Linked DNA regions of Homo sapiens: region 2 is linked to region 1. Evidence: promoter capture Hi-C in 16 types of primary human blood cells and fetal thymus (Javierre and others, 2016). All regions are on one chromosome and are shown on one strand. The core of a region is centred on a gene start or on the middle of the fragment in contact, and the rest is flanking DNA. Distances in the headings are between cores, read along the strand shown.

Region 1 (3,069 bases), core at 416-2,915:
ACATACATATAAAGGCTATTTTAAAAAGTTAACCACTGAAGGATGTTTATTCTTTCGTATCATATTTCAGTTTTTTTTTGTTGTTGTTGTTTTATTTTTTTGAGACGGAGTCTCGCTATATCGCCCAGGCTGGAGTGCAATGGTGCGATCTGGGCTCACTACAACCTCCGCCTCCTGGGTTCAAGCGATTCTCCTGCCTCAGCCTCCCGAGTAGCTGGGATTACAGGCGCACCACCACGCCCAGCTAATTTATTTTTTATTTTCATTCATTTATTTATTTTTTTGAGATGGAGTCTTGCTCTGTCGCCAGGCTGGAGTGCAGTGGCACAATCTGGGCTTACTGCAACCTCCGCCTCCTGGGTTCAAGCGATTCTCCTGCTTCAGCCTCCCGCGTACCTGGAATTACAGCCGTGCGCCACCACGCCCGGCTAAATTTTGTATTTTTAGTAGAGATGGGGTTTCGCCATGTTGGCCAGTGTGGTCTGGAACTCTTGACCTCAGTTACTCCGCCCGCCTCGGCCTCCTAAAGTGCTGGGATTACAGGCGTGAACCACCGCGCCCGGCCCACTTTCAGTTTTTAACCACTGTTTCTCAATTGGAAGACACATCCTTTCCTTTCCGTTACCAATTGCTGGTAAAATCCGATTCAAAATTCTAGTGGAAAAACAACAGCAACAACAACACAAAAAACGCTAACCCTATGAACCCCCAATGTCAAAATGATCTATCGCCAAAAACTCTTCAGCGTCTAGAAAGTTTAGCTATTGGATTTACGCGTTCCTATCTCTCCTTCCAAAAATAACAACTCGTAGCTCTTTCAAGTTATTCTACTTAGTCTCATCTTATCATTTCTGTAGGAAAGTGATTAATACCCTTTTTTTCATGACATTGCCTCTAAGGCCCCAAGAACCACACAGGAGAGGGGAGCTGCCGCCTTGGAGACTTCGGGTGGGGGCAGAGCGCCGCGCCGAGGTGGAGGTAGGAGCCCCGAGGGCACAGCGGGAAGGAAGGCGGAGGAGGCTGCCGGGAGCTCGGCCTCCGAGCAATCCCCCGCCTCGCTGGGCTTCCATGCTTGCTAAAGGGTCGAGATGAACGGGCAAGGGAGAGAGAGGGCGAGGAAAAATAAAAAAGAGAGGGGCGAGTGGGACGAGGGGCCCGGGAGCAGCCGCGGCCGCGTTACCTCAGAGCCCAGAGGCCTGGGGGAGGGGCCCTCGGCGCTGCCGCGGACTCCGGGGCTCCCGGCGGGCAGGTCCTGCAGGGCCGCGGAGCGAGAAGGCTGATGTCTCGGGTGTCTCGGGGAGTTCTCCCGACGTCGCCTGCTGTTTGTCAGTCGCCAGCTGTGACACGGTAGCGGGCCGGGTCACGCTGCCCCCGGCCGCCAGGCGGGTTGCGGGAGGGGTCGCGGTGCCGCCTCTCCAGGTCCGGTCTGGCCCACATCACTGGGGCCGGGGGTTTATTGTTCCGGAGAGCCACAGGCACGGTCGGCCTGGACCCGCCGGGCAGTGTTCCGCTCTGCCCGTCCCGGCCTGGGGTCAAGCCAACAGCTGCAAGGCACGCCGACTGGCGGCAGATCGGTGGCCCGTGTGTGTCTCTTTAAGGGGCCGGGCCTGCGAAGCTGAGGGGCGGGTGGGGTGTGCGTCGCTCCCGGTGTGAGGGTGAGAGGGAGAGAGCGGCTGGCGGGCGTCCGAGGGAGGGAGGGAGCGACGAGCGAGGTAGCGACGCGGGCCGCCCCTGCCGCCGCCGCCGCCGCCGCCGCCGCCGCCGCGGTCGGACCTGCGGCCTCCTCCCCTCCCCTCCCCCGCGTCGCCCTGCTGCGGGGAGGGGGCTCGCGTCGCCGTCTCCAGCCGCTCCCGATGAAGCAGCTGCAGCCGCAGCCGCCTCCGAAGATGGGGGATTTCTACGACCCGGAGCACCCGACCCCTGAGTAAGTATCAGCTCCGCGGCCCCCCGCTGCTGTCGGCCGCCTTATCCCCAGCCGAGGGCGGCGCGTCCTGACGGGTGGCGGCGCGGGCCGGCGCGAGGAGTAACAGGCCCACGGTGGCCTCGCGCGGTCGGTGTCGGGAGCAGGCCCGCGCCGCCACTTCGAGCCGCTTGGCCGGGGCCGCAGCAGGCCCGCGGTTGGGCCCGGCGTTGGCGCCGCTGCTCGTGTCGCGGCGGCGGTTGGGCCGGGCCGGTGGGGGAGGGGCGGCCACGGTCCCTACGGTTACCGCCGTGTCCGCACCGACCCGGCCATCCCGGGGCTCGGCGGTCCTCTCGGGCTCCTCGTGGCTCGTCCGGGCCCCGCTGCTAGCCAAAGGGCAGAGTCGGAGGAGCTGCCGGTGCCGGGCCCGGCAAGAGGGCGCCGGTGAGGGTAGGCCGCGAATCCCCGGGCTCGGGTGGAAGCTCGACCCGTCGCCCGACCTCCCCGCGACGGCGGCGCCTCGGACCGGAAGGGCCTAGCGCGGGTTGCCTGGCCCCCGGGCCGTGGAGGGGCCCGCGCTGCACTCCTGAGTTTGATTTTTTCCTCCTGGGAACTCGATCCTGGCCTTGCAGTGCTTCCGGATTCACATTGTGCACCTTTGGCACTTGGGTTTTGTAATGGCGAGGTTTGTGTGGTCCCGTTGTTGAGGTGACACCGGGTTTGTTTTTCCGCTTGAAAATGAAAGCCTCCTGAGGGACATACATTTTCTTGCAGGTTGTGAGATTTTCACACTTTCGGACACAATTTTCTTGGTAACAGGAATCTCTTACCCTAAACGGATGACTTTCTATTTCTTGTGAAGACTTGGTTAAAAACCAAGAATCGTTTGAGGATTCTCTAAAGAAGACAATGTTGTGGAAAACCGACACACAGTTTTGCCCAATAGTAATTTTTCAGTCTAGGACACCTTTACATTTCTCTTGAGGTCTGAATCTGCTGCTGTATCTGCTATCTCAGAAAGCCTGGAGTCACTTCTTTCCCTGAACCCTCACGAGACCATTGTTTTGAAAAGCCGTTCTTAAACACCGTTTGCTGGTGTTAGACCTAGGAATATACTATTGATTTAAAACTTATCGGTTGATAGGGGTTTCACATGAAACTGTCAAACT
Region 2 (3,069 bases), core at 394-2,893, 81 kb before region 1:
ACCTCGTGTACTTCAGTGGCCTCACCTGCCTAGTGGGGAGGGAAACAGAGTGGGGATTAACTGAGCTGCTGCACCTGGGGTGCTTGACTGTGTCCGCAGAATGAAGCTGATGAAGGATGGTGGTCATGCTGGTTGTCTACAAGGTAGACCCCAGGGCCCATGTTGGAGTGGGCCAAGGAGGGGGAAACCACCCCACAAGGAAGGGTCCTCAGGGGGAAGGCTGCATCCTGTTTTCACAGTGCAGTCCATCAAACCCCTCTTCTTGGAGACATGGGCAGACCCCCCTGGCTGTTACTGTGGGCAGCTCCGAGAAGCAGGCCTGGGACAACTAAGGGATGGACTCTTCTGGCCTTCACAGGAGGGGCAGTCCCAAATTAACCCTTGATCAAGGGGAATGCTGTGGGCTTTAGGCTGGGGGGAGGCCAGTAACCTTCCTCCAGCCTCGTGTGTGTGTCTGTGCCCATGCAGACAGGACCATAAATGGGCTCCATCTGAAGACAGCAGGCAGAACCTTTTGGAAGTAAGAGAAAGCTGAGAAGTACATTTTATTAAAAAAAAAAAAAAAACCTTTAGAAGGTATTTTCAAGGTATAGAATCATTTCATTTTATAGAGGTCTCCACTTCGAAAAGGTGGTTTTTATAGCCTCAGCAAATACTTAGTTTTAAAATTATTAATCAGGTGTTTCTCTGCTCTGGAGGAGGGCTTGGCTGCCACTTCGCTGAGAGGCTGTGTGCACACGTCCTCTTCTCGAGACAGATGGTCCAGGGGTCAGCCAAGGGGTCTTGATTTCTCTACTAACATAGATGCCCCCTGGTCCCTCGAGGTGCCCTTGGTCTAACCTCTGCCTTGCTGTCTTCCCTCCAGATAATCAGCCTTAGACAGATCAAGGAGGTGTTCAACCAGTTCCGGGTGGTTCTGAGGTGAGAGACCCCCACCCCTACCTCATTCCTACATCAGGCTGCCATTTTCATCTCCTGCCATCTGGGCACTTGCCTCCAAGAGCTCCTCTTCTTGCTTGTGGATGAAGAGCCAAATCAGAGTCCTTGGGGGCATGCCTGGGTCCCTGGTGGATATTCAGTGAGTTCATTAATTGGACAGGAGGTGTTTATGGAGTGCCAGCTCTGAGAGTGCCCAGAGCAGGGCATTGTGAATATTCACCTTGTGAATATTGCAACACACACTCCCACCTCAGGAGGCATTTGTGGTTTATTTGGGTGCAAACATACCCATAGTCTGAGCAGCTTATGCTAGGTGGTGTCACTAAAGCTGGTCATGTGATTCCAAGTGGCCTCTTAGAGACAGAACCTAAGACAGAACCCCACATGGTCCCAAGTGAAGCTTACGGTCCTTATCAAGTGTCATCTTGGAGCAGACACACATGACATAAGGTAGCCCTTGTGGGTATGGGGGTCGGACAGTGGGTATATGCAATGGGGCAGGGGGAAGTGAGTCCTTTGTCCTTTTGTCTGGTCTGGTTCATGATGAAGGTGTGGCCCCACACAAGGGGCCTCACCCATATGACTTTTAACCCCAGTACTTGGTTCTTGCCCCAGTGGATTCAGCATGGCCCCAGGTACAAGCTGTTCTCTCTTGCTGTCTCCCAAGCCAACAGGAACAGGAAGTGGAGTCCACTTTGCGCAGGAAGTACACCCTCATTGACAGGAATGACTTTGCAGCCATTTCTGCTATCCAGAAGGTAAGCATAGTTGCTACTTGCCGACAGCACTCACCTCAGATTTCCCATCCTCAGACCTTTGCAGAGCCAGCAAGTATTAATGCATTAAACCAGAGCTAGGATTGCAACAGATAAAGGTAACACCAGAATGAACACAGGTGACCTGTGTTAAGAGTAAACCACTTTTGAATTAAAAATAATTTCCATAAGGTAGAGACATGGATAATAATATTAAAGACGATTTCCTGGAATTAGGTTGGAAATAAGCTTTAAGATCCCCAGAGTATGGAATGAGGTGCCATACTGGTGAGGGGGTGCATGTGGAAAGTGGACATTTGGCAGAGTGGTCAGGGACCGCTCTACAGGGGACAGCCTGAGGCTGGCATCAGCAGCTGTCAAACCTTGGTGTGTATGGTGAACATGTCCACCCTGAGCCTTGGGCCATATACATGTGGGTCCCCAAGGGGTCCAAGCCCTTAATCTAACTCACAGACCTTTGGCTGGCCTCTCTATGTAGGCGGGGCTTGTGGATGTTGATGGCCACCTAGTGGGTGAGCCTGAAGGACAAAACTTTGGACTCGGAGTCGCCCCTTTCTCTACCAAACCTGGGAAGAAAGCCAAGTCCAAGAAGACATTCAAAGAGCCACTCAGGTGAGTGACCTTGCCGCTCTGCCTCCTCAGCAGCTGGCCCTCCTCGGTGGGTGCATGGGAGGATGTGCACTGTTCCCACTTTCCCCCTGGTGTCTCAGCTACTGGGTTGGCACAATGGACGTCACTGCTGCCAATACTAGCAAGTCTGTGGGGCCCGGGCTGGGGCTGGTTTGGAACCGCACAAGAATCATCTCTCGTCCTCACAGCAACCTGGTGAGGTGGGAGTTAATGTCTTCATTACACTGATGAAGAAACAGAGGCTTAGAGAGGGGAAGTCACTCACCAAGGCCATACCACCAATGAGTAGTGGAATGGCAGCAAGAAGCTGGACCAGCTCTCCAGAGCCCATGCCCTCTGGTACTTTATGTTGTACCCCCTCCCCTCACTTCACTAGGGTCTTCCCGCCGACTGGCACTCAGGTCACCTAAAACTCCAGTTCACCTTTCAGGCAAGACTCGTTTGTATGTGCAAGGTGGGAAGAGCATTTAGGTTCACTTAGTGAGCCCTCCCAGGGTGCTGTGTAGTGGTGGGTAAGAGCACAGGCTCTGGAGCTGACGCCTGGGCTCCCTTCCCTGCTCTGCACTTCTCACACCCAAGGGGTCACCCCATGTGAGACATGAGAACCGCTCTGTGCCTGTTTCTGCATCTCCAAAATGGGAATAATAATAATAGCATCCAAGTCATTGAGGTTGTTGTGAGCAAGAGTGTGTGAGCACAGGCCACAGGCCAGAGCTGATTGTAG

Evidence for each region. Contacts are between HindIII fragments. The CHiCAGO score rates a contact against its expected background, and 5 or more counts as called.
Region 2: a fragment that was not itself captured here is called in contact with the fragment with the promoter of SETD2 in region 1 in 1 of 17 cell types (megakaryocytes); the score reaches 5.0 in megakaryocytes.

The regions. Positions count from the first base shown.
Region 1 is chr3:47,162,709-47,165,777 of GRCh38, reverse strand. It overlaps SETD2 (SET domain containing 2, histone lysine methyltransferase), which reads left to right and starts at 1,665. Exons shown (of 21, transcript NM_014159.7): 1 at 1,665-1,924. The coding sequence starts at 1,854. KIF9-AS1 (KIF9 antisense RNA 1) reads right to left here and starts at 1,408. Exons shown (of 7, transcript NR_033373.1): 1 at 1,181-1,408. RefSeq lists silencers at 1,163-1,212, 1,263-2,012, 2,063-2,372. The HindIII fragment of the contact is 4,411 bases long and covers 1-3,069 here.
Region 2 is chr3:47,244,049-47,247,117 of GRCh38, reverse strand. It overlaps KIF9 (kinesin family member 9), which reads left to right. Exons shown (of 21, transcript NM_182902.4): 13 at 866-921; 14 at 1,607-1,697; 15 at 2,194-2,327. It overlaps KIF9-AS1 (KIF9 antisense RNA 1), which reads right to left. Exons shown (of 7, transcript NR_033373.1): 7 at 3,002-3,069. Among named protein-coding and RNA genes, the nearest start is that of SNORD13J, 5.0 kb to the left of the region's middle. The HindIII fragment of the contact is 604 bases long and covers 1,342-1,945 here.